Regions from separate parts of the Homo sapiens genome. Here region 2 is linked to region 1. The links are contacts of gene promoters, found by promoter capture Hi-C in blood cells and fetal thymus (Javierre and others, 2016). All regions are on one chromosome and are shown on one strand. Each heading gives the region's core, a stretch centred on a gene start or on the middle of the fragment in contact. The rest is flanking DNA. Distances are from core to core; before and after follow the strand shown.

Evidence for each region. Contacts are between HindIII fragments. The CHiCAGO score rates a contact against its expected background, and 5 or more counts as called.
Region 2: a fragment that was not itself captured here is called in contact with the fragment with the promoter of KIF21B in region 1 in 1 of 17 cell types (naive CD4 T cells); the score reaches 5.4 in naive CD4 T cells.

Annotation. Positions count from the first base shown.
Region 1 is chr1:201,021,634-201,026,914 of GRCh38, reverse strand. KIF21B (kinesin family member 21B) reads left to right here and starts at 3,201. Exons shown (of 35, transcript NM_001252102.2): 1 at 3,201-3,572. The coding sequence starts at 3,532. LOC101929305 (a long non-coding RNA gene) reads right to left here and starts at 2,966. Exons shown (of 4, transcript NR_188464.1): 1 at 2,830-2,966; 2 at 1,296-1,411. RefSeq lists silencers at 2,476-2,633, 2,985-3,344, 3,745-3,794 and an enhancer at 4,399-5,006. The HindIII fragment of the contact is 1,958 bases long and covers 2,764-4,721 here.
Region 2 is chr1:201,119,275-201,124,555 of GRCh38, reverse strand. All of the region lies in intron 1 of ASCL5 (achaete-scute family bHLH transcription factor 5), which reads left to right. Among named protein-coding and RNA genes, the nearest start is that of ASCL5, 5.3 kb to the left of the region's middle. The HindIII fragment of the contact is 9,756 bases long and covers 1-5,281 here.

The sequences.
Region 1 (5,281 bases), core at 1,952-4,451:
GAGCTCCTGTTGCTGGGCAGAACTCGGCTTAGTCTCCAGGTGGGCATTGGAAGATATGGCTGGACTATATGCCAGCAGGATGGGCTATGCCTGCTCTCCCATGGAACCATGCATAGCTGCTGGGGTGTGGCTGGGTATTAGGACTGGAGGTCCAGAACGCTGTATCTTCCACTCCTACAAGTTTTGCTTAATGCTTAGAGTTTTTTTGCAAATGCCAATGCCCAGTGCTAACCTGAAGAAGATAAAAGGAAACAGGGCTCAAGTTCAGGCCACTTTTGGGAGACATTTCCAGGGCCTATAAGTATCTCTTAGGTTTTTGATTTGTTCCTATAGGGTTGTTGTTGAGAGCTGGGTGTCCTGGAAGATCTGGGCATCCCAGATGGCTGCCCCAAGTTGCTGCCGGATTATTTTAACTACAGTAGCGTGGGAGCTTCCTGCCTCAGAGAGGGCTCCCCACACCTCCCCCAGGTTCCCATCTGCCCAGACGCCCACAGCTCCTGTCAAGAGAAATGATGGAAGCCCCAAGATACCTGGGGGAAGGGCCTCAGCTCAGGACAAGAGCTGGGGCTCCAACCCCAGTCCAGTCAGAGAACTCTCAGGGCCAGCTCATGGTTGTATGCATGTGTGTGTGTTTGCCTGTTTCTGTGAGACAGTGAGGAAAGCATGGGGGTGGGGGAGATAGGCACACGGGCAGCTAATCCTGAGAAACTCTGGGGTTTGGGAAGGAGGGAAGGAAAGGAAAGCTGGAAGGGGATAGAGGTGATGGGAGAGAGGGGGATGGGTAAAAACCAAAGAGAGGAAGCAGTGGCTGTGCTGAAGCTGGACAGAAACTGAAAAGGGCAAGGCTTGTCCTAAACTTCCTCTGACCCATCTAACCTAAATCTCCCCACGCTGTGGTTTAAGCCTTTTTCCCACCTTGGTTCTCCATCTAGCCTCTGAGCAGCAGAACCCAGGGGGGATGTCTGGATGCTGGCTGCCCTGCTGCTCCCTGGTGGCCCAGGAGGGAGCTACTTCTGAGTAGCCGAAGTCCTGAGGCTCTGACATTTAGGAGACCTGAGTTTCCCGCCCGTGTGTATCCCTGCTTCCCCTGACTCAACACCCAGTGACCTGGAGGGATGCAGAGAGGGTGGGCAGCAGCTCTGGAGGCATTTCCCAGCAGTAGAACTGTGAGTCAGAAGGGTCATCTACTGTCGGAAGTCAGAGGGGACCTCCTGCAGGCAGGAAACCAGAGTTGGGCCCCAGAGAAGTCCAGAGATGAGTTGGCGGGAAAGTAGCTCTTCAGAATGCAACATTACCATCCGGGAAGGCTGAACCTGGAGTCCGCTGTGCCTAGAGGAAAAGCCTGGGCCGGCCTAGCTCCCTTCTGCCTGGACATCATCATCCCTTCCACCTTGGTGGTCATCTGGGAAGCCTGGAATAAGATATACATGTCCAAATCTGGAGTCTGTTGCTTATATGCTGGAATTCATACATGTGAGGCTCAGTTTCCCCATCTGCAAAATTTAAAAAGAATAAAAAAGCCTAGCTTACAAGGTTATAGGGAAAAAATGAGAATATGTGCATAAAATACCTTGTGTAGGTGGTCCATATGTGTTAGTCTCCTCCCCACGAATTATTTTGGTTGGAAGATGGGGAGGAATGTTGCAGGATATGACTGCAACATTCTGCTAACCTCCTGGTCCAGGAGAGGTGATCCCCTGGCCCCAGGGAGAGCTTCCTCTAGATTCAAATGCTAATAAAAGGTCCAGGATACCACCAAGACCTCTTCTCCAGCCCCCATCATGGGGGCACTGCTGGCGGTGCTCCTCCTGTTTGCCATGGGGATGAAAAGGATGTGTTGATTGGCCCTTGAAATTTGCCCTTGAAATTATCTTTGGTTTTGATTTGACCTTAATAGGTCAAGCCAAACAGGGATCTGAGCTACTGCATGAAGCAGTTATTGGCGGGGAGGGGGGTGTGAGTGGAGGAGGGAAGGGGAGGAAGATGGTACCAACAGATGCATCCTCAGACCCCAGTCCACACCCTTGCCAAAATCTCTGACATGGTTTCATCATCTGAGGGTAATGTAAGAGGCCTGGAGTCAGACTCCCCTTCCTCCCCTCCCCCAGAGATCCCCATCCACATCTGGGGCTGCAGCTGGGTCCTCCTCTTGGGCCCTTTCCAGGGGAGGGAGCTGGGTGAAGTGAGGGCAGCTGGTGAGGGGCCCTGTGAATGGCCCCAATGTTGGGAGGCAGGGGGCAGGGAAGAGGCGTCTGGGCTCAGAGGGAGGGAGATGGACTGGGAAGGGAATTGTGACTTTGCAGCACTGGTCTCCTCCTCCATCCAGGCCCAGCGTTAAAGTCTCCATGGTCCTCCTTGTCCTTTATACCCATTCCTGCAGGCAGCTGCCCTCCTTCCCTTCCCCACCCACTTCACCGCCCAGCCTCTCTACCCAGGTGCTCGGAACTGAGGGCCCCCTTTGTTCCCTCCTTTCCCCCAGGGCAGCTCAGGCCTCCCACACTGACCCTCTGGCCCCACAGCCACAACAAGCAGAGTGTGAGCCAGGCCCAGTGGGGTCATCTGTGGGTCATAAAGGTCAATGGGACAGTCGTCTAGCAGTAGGGAGGGGCTAGTCTTGGGCTAGGAGCCTGGCCAGGAATCAACTAAAACATGAGCTTTAAGATGCTGCAGGGTGGAGGTGGGGGAAATTTTAGTTAGGGGCTAGCAAGAACTCCCTTCGAGAAGGGTTGGCGAATTTACTGGAATAAATGCAGAAGGGAAGCTTTCCTGGCTCTTTTGAACTATAAACCGTCAATCGCTGTGGGATCCCCGGGAGACCAGGGTTCTTACCATGCTTACCCACGAACTCGCTCTGTAACCTTCGGTAGTTCCCCTCTTTGAATCTCAGTTTCTTCATTTATGAAATGAGGGTCCCATTGAAGCCGAGGTTCTGCTACTCCAGGAGCCGAGGTTCTAACGTGGTCTGCGTCCAGCGCCCCCACCCCTACTCCCACCCCTACCCCCACCCCCACCCTTCAATCCCGCCCCCTACCCCCAGCCACCCCGTGGCCGCGAGCCAAGAGGTCCCTTTAAAGGCGCGAGTCCCGCCCCCACTGCTCATTAGGGCTTTCGATTGGCGGCTCCTGGGCGGGGCGGGGCCCGGCCTGGGCTCGGGGCTGGCTCGGGGCGGGCTCGGGGCCGGATCGGCCCCCGCCCCCTTTGTTCGCGCTGCGGCGGGAGGTGGCTGCCGGGTGGGAGGTGTGTGCGCGTGTGCCGCGCCGTAGGGAGCGGCGGGTCGCGCCGCCGGCTGTCAGCTAGCTCCGCGCCGCCGCCCGATGGCGCGAGGAGGCGCGCGGGCCCAGCCCCGGGGGGCCGGCCGCGGGTGAGCCCCTCGGCCTGCCGCCCGCGAGCATGTCACCTCCAGCCGCCGCCGCCGCAGCCTCCGCCAGCCGCGCCCGCGCCCCCGCCTCCCGCAGCCGCAGCCGCTGCCTCGGGCATTGGCCCCCAGACCCCCGCCTCTGATCCACGCCCAGACCCTAGCTCCAGAGGGCCATGGCCGGCCAGGGGGACTGCTGCGTCAAGGTGGCCGTCAGGTAGGGACCCGGGGCGGGGAAGGGGGCGCGCGGAGAAGCCTCGGGCTTTGTCTCGCGTGGGCTTTGGGCGGGGGGCGCGAGCACCGCTTGGGCTGGAGCCTGCACTCCCGGAGGAGGGGCCGGCGTGGGACGGGATGGAGGGCGCCGCGCGCTGGCCAGTCTGCCGCAGGGGAGCGGCGACCCCGCCGACTACTGGAAGGTGGCTTTGTTTGGGTGGTAATTTTGGGCCCCTCTTGGGAGCCCTTAATGATCAGAAAATCGAATAAACAAGGAAATCCGGTATTTCACACCCAGCTCTGGCCCAGGCCGGAGCGTCTGTGCGTTTCCTCTTCGCCTCCCCACGAGGCTGCTGTCTCATACGGGGATACCAGAGAGGGAAATTTCCCCTCATCCATGCGAGTCAGCTAGTTATGTGCTCTTGGTCCAGCTAGCAAAGGCAGCACACCCACCCTGGGAGCCAGATCTGCAGACAAAGATCGGGTGCGGGGACCAACGGAAAAGCTGGGATGATGCCTTGGCCTTCTGTGGGAAGTCAATGGCTTTGGGGGAGAATCCTACCAGTCCTGTCCCAAGAGGAGATGGGCCTAGGAAGGGAGGAAGAGGTGTATCTGAGGTGCTTCTCTCTGAGAGGGCAGGAGGGTGTGATGCAGATGCCCCATCCTCAGGCACTCAGATAAAATTGAGCAGGGGAGGGTTGCCTAGACTTATCTGGGGTTCCATTCTCAACAGCTCCGGGACTTGAGCCGGCAGAAATGAGACAGGGAGAGGACATGGCTGGGTGGGTTCTATTGGGAGGGGTACACAAAGGTGCAGGAGCAGGAAATGCTGTGAAATTGAGCCATCTGTGTTCTTTGTGCTGGGTGGAGATGCTTCACACCTCACCACTTCTCCCAGTTTTTGCTTTGGGTTTTTCTCTTTGAGAGGGGTGTCTTGGCGGCAGAGTGCCAATCTGGAGCTGCTCACCAAGGTAGGGATGTGGCAAGAACATCTATCTCTGCCCCAGCCCTGTATGATGGAGGGGGCGGGGGATTGTCCAGGTCTAGGGTAGGTCTCTCAGGTCTCTAGATCCCTTGGGTCATATGTGACCCAGATTCCAGGGGTCCTAGGAGGTTGCTCCTAGACAGAGTCAGAGATGGCAATGAAAAAGCTTTCTTCTTCCTGCCCCAGGGCAGATGCCCCTTGCCACGGCCACCTGGCCAGGCCTCTGCAGCCCAAAGAGGAGCTGACACTGATCAGTGCTTGGGTGAAGGGAAGGAGATTGAGGCACCCCCACCCATGCACCCTAGGCAGCACTCAAGAATCACTTGAGCACAGCTTTCCTGGCCCTGAGCAGCCAGAGACAAAGAGGAGCCCTGCAGGTGCCTGGTGGGCTGACTGGGGCGGGGCCAGGCTGCTGCTGGGGCTGACATTGCAGCAGGATCTTGTGGAGGTCGAGGGAGGGGTGCATGGCTGGGGGGTGGGAGTGAGAAATGTAAATATGGCATCTGCAGCAGATTGGGAGAGTCCGAGAACACCATAAAAGGGAAATGAAGCTCTGGCCCCCACCCATTGTGAATGAGGGCTGGGAAGGAAGGGGCTTGGGGGTGCCCTTTCCACAGGGGGTTTCCTTTAGATTCCATCTTGCTGGAGAGAGCTAAACAAAGGCCCCCTACCTCTGTTCAGGTCTCCAGGCTGGACTGGGGCTGAAAAGATGTGGGACTCCCACCCGG
Region 2 (5,281 bases), core at 1,727-4,226, 98 kb before region 1:
CCCCATGAAATAGCCGTCACCTACAAGGGATACTCCTTTTTGTAGAGAAAGGAGTGAGAATCCTTTTTCCTCTGTTCCCCTGAGTTGGCAATAATATGGGCCCCAGGGCATGACTCTGCTTGAGCTTGGCACTGGAGCCTAGGGCAGTAGGGCCAGGGAGGAGACAACAATGACGATGGGTGTGTGGTTCAGAGGGCAGAGGCTGGCAGGCAGCACCCTTGGGGGCAGCTTCCATGGTACCCACCCCTCAACCCCAGCCTCCCTAGCTTCCTAGCCTGTGAACCCAGCTCTGAGGCTGACTGTTCCTCATCAAGGGAGGCTCAGGCACAGCTTGAATTTCTGGGATTCAAACTGATTTCATCTGCAGAACCGCCTGGTTCATTCTGACCATGACTTCACTGTGTCTATAGGATGATTTTCCTTCCTCTTTGTCTTCTTTGAAATTAACATTGATTAATCATAAGCATTCAGAAACACTCTTGAGCACCTATGTGTGTAACCAATGATGAGAACAGGAATTGCAGTAACTTGCATTTGCACAGCAGTGTGAGTCACTTCAGCCAGAGAGAGCAAGTTAAATACTGGGTTCCTAGTCACAATTTTGGCCAGGGTCTCACCTTTCCCTTCTGCAACCCCAAAACCCACCCCCAATGAGGTTGTTGGACTCCTCAGAAGGTATTTCTACTCCCCGAAAGGCAAAGTACGGAGCAGTTTTATCTGATGGTAAGATTTGTGAAGAGTCACATTAGCACTTATTGGTGGCTTTGGGACAAGAGTCCAGGTGTCGGGCTCCTGAGCCATAGACTCTTCCTCCTCCCCTTGGGTGGGGTGGGGTAGTAGGAGTAATGTAGGGAATGGACTTTCTTCTGAATCTGAGTCTTATTCTTCTGGGCTAAGAAAGACTCATTCCTGGACAGGATGACGATGCCCCAGTCCCAGAGTGTAGAAAGGATCCCTTGAATCCCAGGTCAACATTTATCAGCTGTGTGACCTGCGGCAATTTGCTTAACCACTCTTTGCCTTGTTCTTCTCATCTGTAAGTTGGGGATACCATCAGTCCTGACATCATAAGGCTGTAATGAGAGTTTTGTAGCACACTTAGAACAGCGGCTGGCATATAGGTAAGTGCTAGGCATGTGTGGGCACTAAGATGCAGTCCTTTTTTCTTCTACTAAACTGAGGGCAGCAGTTGAGGTTGTCCTCTGCTGGGTCCCCAGCCCACAGAAGGATTCCTTGAAGGAGCTCAGGAGATGTTATTTGGTAGGTGGATTGACAGGCGATAGAACACACGGTTGAATAAATTCAATTTATTAGAATTATTTGAATTCAGTTACCCTTTTCATTCAAAGATTGGAGGGGAAAAATCGGACATTTAATGCATAGAATTTTCCTTTTAGACTCAGGACAGATGTGACTGTGGGAAGCTACTGGGTGTAAGCATTGGTGGAACAATATTGGTGGGGCACCTGCCGTCCTGGGCTTCTCTTAGCCACATCCAAGGGTCCTAGAGCTTCTGGGAGCTTTTCTGAAGGTCACCCGTCCCTTAACGGCAATAAGAGCTACCATTAATTCAATTGCTTTTAGGTGCCACGTGGCTCACATACATTACCTTTGTCTTTACAGTAACCTCTAAGGTAGGTATTATTACCTTCACTTTTCAGATGAGGCAACAGGCTTATAGAAGTCAGTAACTGGCCTAAAGCTACTTAGCCAGTAAGAGCAGCGCCAGGATTCATCCCGGCCAGTTTAATCTAAAGCCCGTGCTCAGGGTTTAGCAGTGGGGTGGTTGCCTCTGGGAACATCTTCCCATAACTCCACAGCATTGCAAATGCCTGGTTATATTCAGGGAACTGGGAAGGACTAAATTCCTCACCCAGCTCCACCCCCAGGAGATCCTGTAACAATCATTACTCATAAAAAAGGTGGGGACCGCTGCCCGGCCAAGAAAGTCCTCATATCAACCCAATGAGACCCTGGTAAATTCAATCGGCTGTGTGACCCTGAGCAGCTCTCTTAGCCTCTCTGAGCCTGTTTCCTCTTTTGTAAACAGGAACAGTAATACCTTCTCTCAGGTGTGAGGATAGCATGGGATAAGGAAAGCAGAGCACGCCGCAAAGCACCAAGCATCAGAGGGCACCTAATCCACGCGAGCCCATCCTTCTCCACCCTGTTTCTCTTCTTTAAGACTCTCAGCAAAGTGATGCCACATTGAGGACTTGGCTTGGTCAGCCCATGTCAAAGCTCTGTGAGCTTTTCTCTTTGTGAAACTGGATGCAGCCAGGTTGCTGCGGAGCAACAGAGGTTTCCAAACCTGAGGCAGGGAGGATGGCGTGGAGGGCAGCGTGAGGGGCTAAGCAGGCTCTGGGGCCCATGGATAGTACTTCCTCATTCAGTGCAGGCTAAGGGGGCAAGTGGGGCTGGAATCCCGCCTGCACAACACCCACCCAGAGCATGAAGCATCATTTTCTAACCCAGCAAGGTGCCATGTGGGCTCATGGTCACAGGGCCTGGCTGCCCCTTCTCCCATCAGTGTTGAAACTATACCCGTCAAGATTCTGAAAGGATTGCTTATGTTGAATATGTGGTCTGGAGTGTTCACTATGTATATGGTGGGGGTGGTGAGGTTATCCTTCTAGAAATATGTACAGGTTATGTGACAGACCCCCCAAGGGAGATTGTAAGATTTCCTATTTGGGTTTTTGTTGTTGTTTTGGGGTTTTTTTTTTTGAGACAGGGTCTGAGTCTGTCACCCAGCTGGGTGCAGTGCTGCAATCACAGCTCACTGCAGCCTCCACCTCCTGAGCTCAACTGATCCTCCCACCTCAGCCTCCTGAGTAGCCGGGACTACAGGCATGCATCACCACATCCAGTTAACCGTTTTTATTTTTAGTAGAGATAGGGTCTCTACTAAAGTATGCAGAACCTAATGAAAGATGAATACAATATTTAATGAGAGATTTTTTTCAAGTTAGTGATAAAAAGATGGCCTGCTTAATGAATGCTAAATAAATCGACACTGCTAATTATTGGTCTACAAAATTAAAACAGAACCCTATTGGAAACCACACACAAAACTGAATTCCTAAAGGAAAATGTAGCGGTGAGTAAGACTTAAACAAGACTAGAAGCACAAGGTTCCCAAGCTGGTCACAAATTCCTGGGCTCAAGCGATCCCCCCACCTCGGCCTCCGAAAGTGCTGGGATTACAGGTGTGAGCCACACACCAGCCCCTATTTGTTTCTTAAAAAAATACATTTACCCTGAAGATTTAAAGGCAGAATTTCCTGAAGTGTATTCTATTTGATGTTAGTGGGCTTAAGACCATTTTTTAAGTGTTCTGTGGTTCCATTGGGAATTTGGGGGTTAAATACAAACAGGTTTCTTTACCTGCAGGGCTTCCCAGGGCCTCTGATGCTAACATGCCCTCCAAGGGCCAACGCTAATGTGGGTATCCAAGGAGGGAAATGCGGGGAGCTGCATTTCTCAAATTATGCAGCCCTTAGGGGAAAGGTTTTAGCAACCACCTTGCCTGGAGGCAGGGGAATGAGTGAGGATTCCACAAAGCTAATGAGTTCTGTCATTCTGAGTCCTTGGGGCTTCCTTACAAATGTTCCCAGTTTTTGGCGGCAGTGGGTAGAGGGGAGGCTATGGAAGCAGTCTCCCTGTTGCTGCCCAAAAGCAGCATTATGGACTGGTCAACTCTCAGAAATCTCTCAGAGTGGTAGGAGAAGAAGAAGACTATGGAATCACTTTCCCCAATACTTCCTTCAGAGCCATGGGTTCCCTGTTGAAAGAGACATGTTCAGCCAATTCCTGACCTCAGACCCCCAACTCTGGTTCCAGTCCTGCTAAAGACAATGAGGAAAGCCTGAAAGGTAGAATTATGTTGTCTGCTTCTTCAAAGTTCACATCTGCCTTTGCCTCCCCAGGGCTTCCCACCAGTGTCAATCAACAAACACTTAACTGAGCGTGTACTGTGTGTCTCAAAGAAGGATAAGACCAGAGTTCTTGGGCTCACAGTTTACAGCCTGGGTTGGGGGCAGTGACAGGAAGAGCCCTGGGGAGAGGGCCCTCAGGTTGCCTGTTGCCCATGCAGAGTATAAGGCTGAGGAGGGTGGGGAGACAGGGCCCTGGTGAACATTGAGCACCAGGGAGAGGCCTGGGAGAGATGGGCAGGGGATGAGTATGAAACCATTAACAGCAAGTTATGATAATGTGCCATCCCCAGGGGTGTGGACAGTGAGATCCTCTGGCAATAGGGACAACAAGGGGCTAATATTGGTGGGGCAAACACTAGTGCTACACAATTAGAATTGGCAAGGTATTGCAAAGGAGGCCCAGGAGACCCCCGCTGACAATACGCCCTCTCTGGTGCAAGTCAGATTTGAGGATTAGAAAGTTCTTTGCACAATAATTGATGATAGCTGGCCCTAAACAAACTAACTGTACATGGTACAACTGAGCGTAGACTGCAGGCCTAACAGCTCAGTGTAGCTTGCACCACGAAGAAAGCTCTGGGGAGGAACAGCAGTTACTTCCTGCCAAGCACATCTGCTCGGCTGCTTCCCAGGGCAAAGTAAACTAGAGTACAGCTGGTAATGAATGGGGTTGCTGAGGGCAAGGAGTGGCTCTGGTCCCAGAGAGGAACCAGGGCCCCTTAAAAAGGTGGACAGCATTGCCTGCAACTAATAGTCTGTGCCTACTCAATGCAATCAATGGGTTCACTCAACTAGCTCTTTCAGCAGTCACCATGGGGGCTAAGAGTAGAGGAAAAGCTCTTCCACTGTTTCAGAGTCACATTTTTATCTAGTAAGTTGCCTAATGCTGATGCAACTGCTATTTTTAATTCAAAACAACAAAATACATCTAATTGTATTAATACATATTTTATGTATGTGTACATAGTGAAAGTTTAAGTGATACGAATTGCTTCACAAACACAGGGAGAAAATTAGTAGATGTTGACAGAAAACTCAGTAGCTTTTCCTAAGGGGTCTTCTCTTACCCTGAATTTTCCAGGAGACCTAGGGACCCACAGTCCCCAAAGGGAGCTGTCACAGGAAGTGATGACTTCGACACCCGTGGGGTCGGGATGCGAATTTCATCAATCTGTTGCCGCCACTGCGTCTCACCACCACACCGTGGCGCTATTGATAGCTGGTTCTGCCCAGTCCCATGAACTTAGCCGATGAGTAGGTTCCCTGCTACTGATAGATCCTCCTGGGGCCTTTGCTCAGGTTTTCTAAGCTCAGGCAAGGGGGCTCCTGCTGCTTGACTCAGT